Regions from separate parts of the Homo sapiens genome. Here regions 2 and 3 are each linked to region 1. The links are contacts of gene promoters, found by promoter capture Hi-C in blood cells and fetal thymus (Javierre and others, 2016). All regions are on one chromosome and are shown on one strand. Each heading gives the region's core, a stretch centred on a gene start or on the middle of the fragment in contact. The rest is flanking DNA. Distances are from core to core; before and after follow the strand shown. Region 1 holds the start of TRH-GTG1-5 (tRNA-His (anticodon GTG) 1-5). Region 2 holds the start of HFE (homeostatic iron regulator). Region 3 holds the start of H1-6 (H1.6 linker histone, cluster member).

The links. The method cuts DNA at HindIII sites, captures the fragments that hold promoters and counts their contacts. A CHiCAGO score of 5 or more calls a contact.
Region 2: the fragment with the promoter of HFE here is called in contact with a fragment that was not itself captured in region 1 in 1 of 17 cell types (non-activated CD4 T cells); the score reaches 5.7 in non-activated CD4 T cells.
Region 3: the fragment with the promoter of H1-6 here is called in contact with a fragment that was not itself captured in region 1 in 4 of 17 cell types (naive B cells, total CD4 T cells, naive CD8 T cells and 1 more); the score reaches 5.8 in naive B cells.

The regions. Positions count from the first base shown.
Region 1 is chr6:27,156,668-27,160,809 of GRCh38, reverse strand. It overlaps TRH-GTG1-5 (tRNA-His (anticodon GTG) 1-5), which reads right to left and starts at 2,683; the gene lies at 2,612-2,683. RefSeq lists a silencer at 2,523-2,572. The HindIII fragment of the contact is 2,858 bases long and covers 743-3,600 here.
Region 2 is chr6:26,085,014-26,089,155 of GRCh38, reverse strand. It overlaps HFE (homeostatic iron regulator), which reads right to left and starts at 1,727. Exons shown (of 6, transcript NM_000410.4): 1 at 1,640-1,727. The coding sequence starts at 1,715. It also overlaps HFE-AS1. The HindIII fragment of the contact is 3,203 bases long and covers 1-2,112 here.
Region 3 is chr6:26,106,389-26,110,530 of GRCh38, reverse strand. H1-6 (H1.6 linker histone, cluster member) reads left to right here and starts at 2,396. Exons shown (of 1, transcript NM_005323.4): 1 at 2,396-3,119. The coding sequence starts at 2,438. The coding sequence ends at 3,061. The HindIII fragment of the contact is 5,524 bases long and covers 1-2,769 here.

The DNA.
Region 1 (4,142 bases), core at 922-3,421:
AAAGTAGGTGCTGGAGTGGTGTGGCTACAGATAGATTGCTGCACCCTTGAGAGAAATTAACACTACGAAACCCCTGCTTAAAGTGTTTCATCCGGATTTCTGCTGACATTAGAAGGAAAGTTCTTTTCCTGATTCCCTGACTTTTGGGGCTATTCTTTCTAGAACCTACCTTTTCCCACAACATCTGTGTCTTCCCTAAACTTATGGCCTATCATAGCAAACATTTTGGCCAACATCCGCCTTATAAAAAGCCTTGCTCAGATCTTCAAATAAGCCTCAATACTGAGGACAGACAAAACCCTTCTTATTATTGTTAGAACTACCTTATCAGCATCAAAGAAGCACAGGATTGTAGTCAAGTTAAATAGATGCTGAGTCTGGTACCAGTCTTTGCAATATTACTACTGCATGAAGGCCTTCCACCACTTAAGTAGCAATGATATTTATTTATTTAGCTCCAAAAATGGCTTATTTTATTATTTTGTTTGTTTGTTTGTACCTTACTGAGCTAGTGCCATCATGCATTTACCACCCTTAAATCTTTAGAACAATCTTAGAAGGTGGTAACTTTCATTAATTTCCATGGAGAGATGAGAATGATAAAACATAGAAATATTAAAAAGTCATTTCAAGACCATGAATGCCATAGGTAGAGTAAAACAGTTTTCTTTCTGAAAATGTGGTTGGCAGACTGTGTAAGATACTTCCATACCAATATTAGTGCATTCATAAAATGCAAGCTTTTAATCTCACAATTCCCCTGTTTATACCAGATTTCTAGCAATGCTCACTCAAAGCTGCAAAACATTATTGTGAACCAGAGAACTTCACACCTCTAAGATAAACATGTGCTTTGCACTGAGTATCATATGGTACACGCCAAGCAAGCTCTCTACTTTTCGAGCAAATCATACAGCATGGGTTTTATTGAGCCCTATTACTCACTTGTCACTACAATTTTATTCTGTAATAGATCTAGGACCCTAGCTCTCTCACTAAGAGATAGCCTCTGAGTCAGAGTCCATAGATTTCTGCTACTCAGGCCAGTAAGATCTGAGAAAATGTGTTCTGGAGAATTGCAAGATCAAAATGTTTATTGCTTTAGCAGTTTTATCATTCACTTGTGGCAAAATAATTGACAAGAACTGATCCTTTAGGGTCAATACATACTTGATCCCTGTCTTCACTCTTGTAAGACTGAGTCAAGATAAAATAGACTAAAAAGAAAATTGAAGTAGAATGTGATACAAGTGAACATGAATAACCACTACAAATGCTATTAAATTACTGAGAAGAGGCCTAGAACCTGACCTGTTGGAGAGATGATATCCTACAGTATAAGGCAGCTCAGCTCAATTACAATATCTCTGAGTTTCAGAATCCATGTCAGCTGGATGGACAGTTGGAGAAGAAATGGGGGCTATTTTAGCCCCAAGAAGGAAAGAACAAATCTCTTTTGCTGAAATTTTTGATAAGTTGCTAAAAGTATGAGTATTCTTTTTTTTTGAGACCGAGTCTTACTCTGTCACTCAGGCTGGAGTGCAGTGGTGTGATCTTGGCTTACTGCAACTTCCACTGCCTGGGTTCAGGCAATTCTCGTGCCTTAGCCTTCCGAATAGCTGGGACTACAGGCCTATGCCACTATGCCAAGCTAATTTTTGTATTTTTAGTAGAGACGGGGTTTCACCATGTTGGCCATGCTGGTCTCGAACTCCCGACCTCAGGTGATCTGCCCGCCTCGGCCTCCCAAAGTGCTGGGATTATAGGCATGAGCCACCACACCTGTTTGAATACTAACCTTCCACCAGGGCCAGGAGGGACGAAGTGCCATTAATGTGTTCTCAGAGTGCTGTGCTACTAACTAGAACTGGGCTCATGGAAGCGCCTCTGGGGATCTGCCTGTCTCCAGCCACCTCCTACTGGTCCTAGGTAGCACCAACTACTTCTTTCCAGCCACCTCCGTATCTCAGATCAGCTCTCCTCCACTCCCGCCTCACCCAGTCTACTTGGCTCTTTAGAACTCATTCTAGAAACTGAACGGGCTAGAAATGGGGGCTGTTCTTCTGGGCCATTATTCCCCCCCACCCAAATTCCTTCAATTACTCAAATTTCTTTAATTTTCTCCAGATGATCAAAGGTTACAGTTTTTCAGCATTGGTCCAGCTAGGATACTTAGAAACGCGTGATTAATAATTTGTCTTTTGTGTTTTAAGAAAGATCTCCACAACAAACCTGGATCCCCTTTTGAACAGTCCTTTCCTCATGCCTACCAGTGTTTGAAAGTAAAAGTTTTCCATTAAAAAAAAATTACCTCAGTTTCTTCACATACAGCCAATGCCAACAAGACTGTAGGGCTTGGGTAGGGTTGGGAAGAGAATCTTTGGAGAGGGGAAAAAAAAGACAAGGCAACAAGCGTAGACACTCTCTGCTTGGCTGACTGGTTGGGGCACCATGATGAATACTAGTGTTTTTTGTGTACAGATTAGATCGTAAGTCAATTCAATTTTGCAAGGGTTTTTCCGAGACTGTCTCCACTCCAGTATGTTGAAAAATTGAGGCGACGTCAAGGTACTGCTCAGTACGTTGAGAAATTGAGGCGACATCAAGGTACTGCCGTGACTCGGATTCGAACCGAGGTTGCTGCGGCCACAACGCAGAGTACTAACCACTATACGATCACGGCACGCCACCAGAGGCCGCTGCTTGTGGGGCTCTTCCTTTGCTTATTTCCCAGAAACGTCTGTTTTTGTCATCTAAAGAATGGTGCAGTCTTTCGTCCTTATTTACACACCTACCCAGTTTACTTCCTTATCCACTCCCCGTCCCCAATATTTTGCTTATGGCAAAGAAGCCAAAGGTAACACATTAAGTTTCATTATATGGAATTTTCCCAGCGTGGTGGTTGTTTTTGGGGGTTGGTAATACTGTGCTTGTAAACTCATTATTCTCACTTCTATCTCCAACCCACGCATGTTTCTTGCTCAGTTTAGCAGTGTGGTCCTCAGATCTTTGGCAACAAAAGGAAGAGGGCGCTGCTTTGAAGTGGACCTGCCAGATCCCATTTTTTGCCAAACTAGTCAGAATCTTCGGGGGCTTGGCATGGAATCTGGCATCTCGACAGGTGCCAGAAGTGAGTTTCTCATCACGAGGAACTATGTGGCTTCGTCCTGACCCAGGTACCTATGAGAAGCCAGTGAGGCGCTCGCGCACTCAGCCTGCCCACCTGAGCCGTCAGGAAATGTCCGGCGGCGCTCGCACCTCAGAGTGAAATTTCTTTCTCCCTTTCATACCTAGTTTGCCAGAAGAGGGAGATAAAAGTGCCTCTCCTGTGGCTCCAAAGCTCCGTGGGACTTCCCTCCTGCCCCGCTTGCTGTTTTAGGAACGTAGCCTCTAGAGTCAAGGTCCTGGTCGTGTTTTCCCCTTGATACCAAATGATTTTCTTTCTGTAAAATCATTCTGGTCTTAAACTCCTGAACTCAACTGATCCGCCCCTCTCGGCTTCCCAAAGCGCTAGGATTACAGGAGTGAGCCACCGCGCCCGGCCTCTTCTCTTTACCTGGTTAAATTTGTTTAATGCTTCAGCTTCAACTCAAGAAAGCTTTTCAAATCAAGGAAGCTTTTCTTGACCTCCCGTCTCCACGCAACACATGGTTCCTTGGTTTTTTTTTTTTCCTTCCCTCCCTTCTTTCCCTCCTTCCTTCCTTCCTCTCTCCCTCCCTCCTTCCCTCTCTCTTTCTTTTCTTTTCTTCTTTCCTTCCTTCTTTCTTTCTCTCTCTCTCATTCTCTTTCTTCCTTCCTTCCTTTTCTTTCTTTCTTTCTCTTTCTTCTTCTTTTTTTTTTTCTCAGAGTCTCGCTCTGTTGCCCAGGCTGGAGGGCAATGACACAATCTCGACTCATTGCAACCTCCACCTCCCGGGTTCAAGCGATTCTCCTGCCTCAGCCTCCCGAGTAGCTGGGATTACAGGCGTAAGCTACTACGCAGGGCTAATTTTTGTATTTTTATTAGAGAGGGGGTTTCACCATGTTGGCCAGGCTGATCTATAACTCCTGACTTCAAGTGATCCACCCGCCTCGGGCTCCCAAAGTGCTGGGATTACAGGCGTGAGCCATCATGCCCGGCCACTTGATTCTTTTTCACTTTT
Region 2 (4,142 bases), core at 478-2,977, 1.1 Mb after region 1:
TGCAGATGGTAGTCCCCCTTCCCACCCCCACGCCGCCCCCCCCCCCCACACACACACACATGAGTAGTGCTGAGAAAACCCGCTTTTTAATCCAACTTGCCAGGCCCACTCAGTTTGCCTGGGAAATACTGCTCCCAGTCAATATCATTCTTATTTCCTTCATGTCTCTGCTCAAGTGTCAGCCCCAGAGTGACTTGCCCTGACTTCTCTGCTTCTCACAACACCCATGATTTCCTGATGTTGTATATCTTTCTGCTCATTTGCTTATTGTCATCTCTCCCACTAGAATGCAAAATATCAAAGGGTAAAGACTTGTTTCCCTGCTCTCTCCCTTGGGGCTTGAACAGTGCAACACATGGCTGGGACTCATTTACACTTGTAAACAATGAATATTTCTGCTCAACATGAAATTTTATTATTCAACCTCTAATGCAGTGTGATGTTTAAGAATCATAGCTATGAAGTGGAGACATGAGCTCTGCCACCAAAGCCCAGTGTACCATTGAATAAATTTGCCAGGAAGCAGGCCGTGCCATGCCTCATTCTTGTCATGTGTAAAATGTGGATACACGTAGTACCAAAACTCAAAGTGCTGTGCTGAGGCCGGCGTGTGACCCACAGAACACTGTGCTACACTACAGGGCAAAATCACTGTCAACTAAGATTAGAAGCAGCTGTAGTACTTGAAATAACATCAGAAAACCAGATTATTTATGTTCTTTGTAACCTGAAAAGAGTTATATAATCTGAATTCCAGTTAACTTCTAGTAAAATAAACGTATTATTAGCTCCTACCTCCCTATGCCTAGTGAAAATCAAATAAGATCAGATATGAATGTAACTTAGAAGTGAGTGCATTGCTTACATGTTCATTATCAGTACTTTGTAGAGAGGCCTCTTAATTACACAGCACATTGCAAATCAATAAAGCCTAGCCGAAAAGAGAATTGTTCAGTTCAAACGTTCAAAACTAACATATACTTAATTTTCCAGGCAAAAGAACAATTGCCAAGAGTGGGGAAAGGCCCGAGGTAGGCCTCTCTCAGGAGCCTCCCACCCTAGAGACCTCCACCCCAGGTCTCACCAAAAGTGGGTGGAATGGTGAAGAATTCAGATCCCCAACGCCACTCTTTCGCGCCCCCACCGCCCAACGCATTCGTTCTGAGGTGGAAACCCCGTGCGGATCCTGCTGTGGGTTTGCTCAGCCTTCTCGGCAAGCACTCAGGGAAGAACTTCCTGTTTGGAGATGACTGGGGAAAAAACTGCACAGCTGACATTGGAAATAAACCCGAGTTCCAGGTTCAAGGAGCCCCAGGCTTAGCTCAGCTCAAGTGAGGAACTACGAGATTTATTTAAAAGCATTCTAGTTGGGGGAAGGGAGTGGGCGGTTCCAAAAGTCACTCCGCAGAGCCGGGACAGCCGGGGGAGGGGGCAGGTCCTGGGGCGAGGGACCCCTATCTGCAGTTCAGTGGTAGGCACTCCCTCACGGGGTCTGGACGCAGAAAGTAGGGAGAGGGGCTTGCGGATAGGGTTGAGCAGGTCCTCCAAAGTTAGCAAACTCCCAAGCGCAAAGAAAAAGCTAGTTTCGATTTTTCCACCCCCGCCGCGCCCCTAGTTCGCCCGCAGCCCTCGGACTCACGCAGCAAGCGCCCCTGCAGGACCGCGGTCTGCAAAAGCATCAGGAGGAGAAGCGCCGGCCTGGCTCGCGGGCCCATTTCCCCAGCTCTGGCCGCACGTCCCCGTTAAATCTCCGCTTCTTTTGGGGGGCGGGGAAACGGGGATGGCTCCAGAAGTCACCCTACAGCTATTGCCTAGGCTCAGGAGATGCCCAGTAAAACTTCCTGGTGAAAAGCAACAGGTCTTTCAGAACTTTAGTTCTCTCTCTCCTACAGCAGAAGGTACCTGCTTGTGAAACACTAGGTGATCCAGTGTCCCCCTTGGTTTTTAAATCCTGAAGGGGTGTTGTTGATTGGGGAAAGTAGCTTCGCAATGTTCTGATCTGAACTTTAGATATTTAAATATTTATGATTTTCAAAATTCAATCATACATTTAAAAATTTTATCTCAACCTTAGACCAACTTATGTCTTATTTGACTTAGAAATATAAAGCTTTTTCATTTTGTTTTTTGATTCAAATTAATTAAGTCATAACATTAACCAATTAGATCCTACTGAAACACCTTCCACAGCCTTCATAATTGAATTATCTGACAAGTGTTTCACAAACTTTACAGTATTGGGATTATCTGGAGAATGATTAAACATATTGAGGCCTGCTCCTAACCCCAGACACACTGATTTAATGGGTAATTGTTAGGTAGTTAGACATTAGCAGTTGGGAGGGGATGACAGAAGAGAGCGGAAAGGCTGTCACTAAGACAGCCACTGGCCCACCTAAATTCAGGCCCAAGACTACCCTAATGCCACCCTAAGGGATGGAGTTTATGATAAAGTCTGTGGCCAAAATATCCTGGAGAAAGAGAAAGGAGGGTACAGGTGGAAATTCCCTAAGGTGGCACATGCCCAACAACACAAAAGCCTGTCTTCAAGTTCACCCCAAGTTCATCATGCCATCATTATAATAGAATTTACATACAGTTTTGCCCCCCCATCCCTGGGAGGCTTTTCTTAACAAATTATAGGTAAGACCATGCACAGTTTAATTTTAGATTGTATAGCTATACACTTCAATCAAATAACATCATCCTGTCACTCAGATACAGCCCAAACCTCAACTCCTCCCCACAAACCCCATAAAAGCACCTTGAGCTCTGTAAAGAAGTGCTGAGTTCACTTCGCAGAAATAAGCCCGCTGTCCCTCAGAGTGTATTATTGTGCTTCAATAAACTTTGCTTTAAGCTTGCATTTTGGTGTTAGTTTGTAGTTCTTTGCTCACTATCACAAGAACTGAGATTGCTGGTTCAGAGCTCCGGCTATAATAATCTCCTCGGTTAAAGGATCCATCCCAATGCATAATTCCCAGTAACAGTATGGGATGCCACCTGGGCAATGGGATTTTAAAAGCTTTCCTTCTCCCTCAACGAAGTTTGGGAATTATTGCCTTAGACATTTCAAACAATATTAATAAATTTAATACACCTGATTTGCTCCAAACCTTTACATATCTAGCAAATTCAACAGGCATTATTTTTGTAAGCATGTATGCAAATTTTGGCAATTCAAGAAAATCAAACAGGATATCAGGGCCTCGACTGTAGGCAAACAGATACAATAACATTGGAAACATGTAGAATATTGATGATGGGCACATTGGGGCTGATAGTACTATTCCTTTTTTTCAATTTTTGGTAAGATATAATTAGCATACCATATAATTCATCTATGTAAAATGCAAAAATTGGCCCGGCTCAGTGGCTCACGCTTGTAATCCCAGCACTTTGGGCGGCCGAGGAAGGCAGATCACCTGAGATCAGGGGTTCGAGACCAGCCTGGCCAACATGGTGAAACCCCGTCTTTACTAAAAATACAAAAATTAGCCGGGCGTGATAGCAGGCAACTGTAATCCCAGCTACATTAGAGGCTGAGGCAGGAGAATCGCTTGAACCCGGGAGGCGTAGGTTGCAGTGAGCTAAGATCGTGCCATCACACTCCAGCATGGGAGACAAGAGCAAGACTTCATCTCAAAAAAAAAAAATTAGCTGGGTGTGGTGGCATGCACCTGTAATTCCAGCTACTCGGGAAGCTGAGACAGGAGAATCGCTTGAACCTGGGAGGCGGAGGTTGTGGTGAGCCGAGATCATGCCATTGCACTCCAGCCTGGGCAACAAGAGCGAAACTCCGTCTCAAAAATAAAATAAATAAAATAAAATGCAAAAATTAATGGATTTTAGTATATTTACAGAGATGTGCAACCATTACCAAAATTTTACATTTCTATCTCCCCAAAAAGAAACCATGTTCCCCTAATTCAGTACCCTTAATTCATCGCCTCCCAGATTCCTCCATTCTCCTCCTCCTCCCCTCCCAGCCCTAGACAATCTTTAATCTACTTTCTTTCTATTTGGAACATTTAGTATACATAGAGGCATATAATATATTGCTTTGCCGTGACTGGCTTCTTTCATTTAGCATAATGTTTTTATGTATGTTTTTCATGGACCAATAATATCTATTATAAGGA
Region 3 (4,142 bases), core at 1,147-3,646, 1.1 Mb after region 1:
CAGTAGAATATACTAAAGTGCTGGTGCTTAAGATAGTATTGTTTTCTGGAAAAAAAAAAAAAATTTTTTTTTTTTGAGACAGGGTCTCGCTCTTGCCCAGGCTGAAGTGCAGTGGCACAATCATGCTCACTGCAGCCTTGACCTCCTGGGCCCAAGTGATTCTCCCACCTCAGCCTTTTGAGTAACTGGGACCACAGGTACGTGCCACCACACCCGGGTAATTTTTTAATTGTAGAGACAGGGTCTTGCTATGTGCTTAGGCTGGCCTTGTGAACTCCTGGGCTCTAGTGATCCACTAGCCTCAGCCTCCCAAATTTATGGGATTATAGGCATGAGCCACCCTACCTGGCCTGTTCCCTGAATTTTTTTTTCTTTCAGGTGTTTGTGCATATGTGTGTGTGTATGGGTATAACAGAGAGACAGAGAGAAAGAAACTTTTCTATCTCACTTTGCAATCAGAAGTTTGAAGTCTTATCTTTTGGCTTTTGTTTCAGAAATATTTCAAATGTAGACTCTCTCCTTTACCACACTGTCCCCTTAGGCAAGGTCTTTGCCATTCTTCTGAGACTATTGCAACAGACTCCCAACTTCTGACTGTGGGCCCTTCTCAAAAATGATTGTTTATGCAATAAATCTAAACCCAAGACAACTACAACAATACAACAAATTCTCTGCTTAAAAACTTCCAATGTCTGCCGGGCGCGGCGGCTCACGCATGTATTCCCAGCACTTTGGAGGCAGAGGCGGGCAGATCACTTGAGGTGGGGAGTTCGAGACTAGCCTGGCCAACATGATGAAACCCCATCTCTACTAAAAATACAAAAAATTAGCCAGGCATGGTGGTGGGCGCCTATAATCCCAGCTAATTGGGAGGCTGAGGCAGGAGAATTGCCTGAACCTGGGAGGTGGAGGTTGCACTGAGCCAAGATCACACCATTGCACTCCAGCCTGGGCAACAAGAGCAAAACTCTGTCTCAAACCAAACCAAAACAAAACTTCTAATATCTACCAAATGTTTCACACAAGTATTTGGGGATCTTCACAAATGGCCCTTATGGAGTTTTCCTTTGCTGAGACCCTATGCTCTGGCCACACTAAACTCATTCAGCATCCCAGAAAGGCCTCAGCCTTTGTGAGCAAGCTCTTATCTCCAGGCCTCTCACAAAGACCTGTTCCAGTAGAAGCTCAGGGGAGCACACTGGACATTATTCCAACAACCCTTTCCCCACAGCTATGCAGCCAAATCTGCCAGCTCAGTTAATTAATTAAGCAATTCAGAGATGAGGGTCTGCCCAGGCTGGAGTGCAGTAGCTGCGACCTCAAGCTCCTGGGCTCTAAGTGATCCTCTTCAGTCTACCCAGAAGCTGGGACTGCAGGCATGTGCCACCACACCCAGCTAATTTTTTTTTTTTTCAGTAGGGACCAGGCCAACCTAGTCTTGAACTCCTGGCCTCCAGCCTTCCGAAGTGCTGTAATTACAGGCATGAATCACTGCGCCCAGCCAACCCGCCCAGTCTTGTTAGACATGGGGTCTGTAGTTTCTAGTAGGTTCTTGAGTCTAGGGTTCCTACCTCATGTTTTATAGTTAATTTAGGGGAGGGACTGTGTCTGTTTATCTGGGGATGTAGGGGTGGGCAGGGGGATAGAGGGGACTTCAATTAATGAAACCAGAAGCAAAACTCAGTTGAGGACACCGGTCATGAGAGTGGCCTGATTATGGCCAATCTTACATAATGTGTGAGATCTTGATATTACCCCATCCTTGAGAGTCCTCTATAAAGCTACAGGGACTTGGGAGCACCTTTAATTACAGACAACCCATGTTCCTGTGGATTATGATTTATTAGATTGCACATGCCTAAATAAAGACATCCTCTGCAGTCTTTTGACAATTCTATAAGCATCTTCTGACTCCGCAATTAGACAGCTAAGAGATCTGTGTTACTTCCCTCACATATATAAATAATTTTAAATAAAAATCATGGCGTGAATAATTTCTTTCCTCTACCGATTTGAAGCTATCCATTTGGAAGACCACTCTGAAGAGATGAAATAAGTCTTCTGCCAAAGATTACTTATTAATTTACAAGGAAAAGGGGAAGTTTTGTTCCTCTCCGTGAATTTGATTGAAAATCGAGGGCTTTCTCGAATAGTTTTGGCATCCAGGGTCATTTTTCATTAAAAAGAGAAAAGTCATGTCAAATATGAATTTCCGCAGATTATTCAGCACTAGACCCTGGGAGATTCTGTAAAGAGGGGTTTTGTTATACTCAACTTTTCCGGGTAAAACAAACACAAATACTCCTCCTCCAAGGGGCGGGGGCGGTGCCTAGGTGATGCACCAATCACAGCGCGCCCTACCCTATATAAGGCCCCGAGGCCGCCCGGGTGTTTCATGCTTTTCGCTGGTTATTACATCTTGCGTTTCTCTGTTGTTATGTCTGAAACCGTGCCTGCAGCTTCTGCCAGTGCTGGTGTAGCCGCTATGGAGAAACTTCCAACCAAGAAGCGAGGGAGGAAGCCGGCTGGCTTGATAAGTGCAAGTCGCAAAGTGCCGAACCTCTCTGTGTCCAAGTTGATCACCGAGGCCCTTTCAGTGTCACAGGAACGAGTAGGTATGTCTTTGGTTGCGCTCAAGAAGGCATTGGCCGCTGCTGGCTACGACGTAGAGAAGAATAACAGCCGCATCAAACTGTCCCTCAAGAGCTTAGTGAACAAGGGAATCCTGGTGCAAACCAGGGGTACTGGTGCTTCCGGTTCCTTTAAGCTTAGTAAGAAGGTGATTCCTAAATCTACCAGAAGCAAGGCTAAAAAGTCAGTTTCTGCCAAGACCAAGAAGCTGGTTTTATCCAGGGACTCCAAGTCACCAAAGACTGCTAAAACCAATAAGAGAGCCAAGAAGCCGAGAGCGACAACTCCTAAAACTGTTAGGAGCGGGAGAAAGGCTAAAGGAGCCAAGGGTAAGCAACAGCAGAAGAGCCCAGTGAAGGCAAGGGCTTCGAAGTCAAAATTGACCCAACATCATGAAGTTAATGTTAGAAAGGCCACATCTAAGAAGTAAAGAGCTTTCCGGGAGGCCAATTTGGAAAGAACCCAAAGGCTCTTTTAAGAGCCACCCACATTATTTTAAGATGGCGTAACACTGGAAACAAGTTTCTGTGACAGTTATCTATAGGTTTAAGTTGTGATGCAGCTGAGTTGAAAAGGCTTGAGATTGGAGAATTAATTCAGGCCAGGCTTCAAGACCATCCTGGGCAACATAGCCAGACTACCATCTATACCAGGGGTCCTCATTTCCCCGGCCACCGACCGGTAACCGGTCCCTGTCCATGGCACGTTATGAATTGAGCCGCACAGCTGAGGGGTGAGCGAACATTAACCAACTGAGCTCCACCGCCTGTCAGGTTAGCTGCAGCATTAGATAGATTCTCATAAGCTCAAACTGTATTGTGAATGGCACATGCAAGGGATCTAGGTTTCAGGCTCCTTGTGACAATCTAATGCCTGATGATCTGAGGTTGGAGCAGTTTTAGTCCGGAAATCATTGCTCCCAGCCCCTGCACCCCCTGGTCCGTGGTATAATTGTCTTACACAAAACGGTCTCTTGTGTCAAAAAGGTTGGAGACTACTGGTTTTACAAAAAAGTAAATTAGTCAAGCATGGTTGGCACGCTCCCTTAGTCCCTGCACCCAGGCGTTTAAGGATACAGTGAGCTATGATGGTGCTACCTCACTCCAGCCTGGGTGACAGCGAGTCAGACGTTGTCTCAAAACTTAAAAAAAAAAAAAGTTAAAACAGAAAAAGGGCTTCTTGTCAGAGACTGCCGTATATCTAGAGGTCCAGGAACTAAAAAGTCTGATGTCCAATCCTGAAAAGCTCGATGGTGCACTAGAGGAGGCTTTTACATGTAAGAGCATCTAAGTTCTGGAAATGCCAGTGTCAGGGAAGGGAAGTGGAGAGCAATTTGGCATCCAAACATAACTTGCTGATACTTTTTTTTTTTTTAACACAAGTACTACATTCTAGTCTTTCTGTGGTGTCATTGTAACTATTGTTTCTTAATATGCTATCCACTGACTTCAAGGGATCAATAAATAGGAATCAAGGTGTCCCAGAATATGGATTAGGGGAGTTTTTTTGTT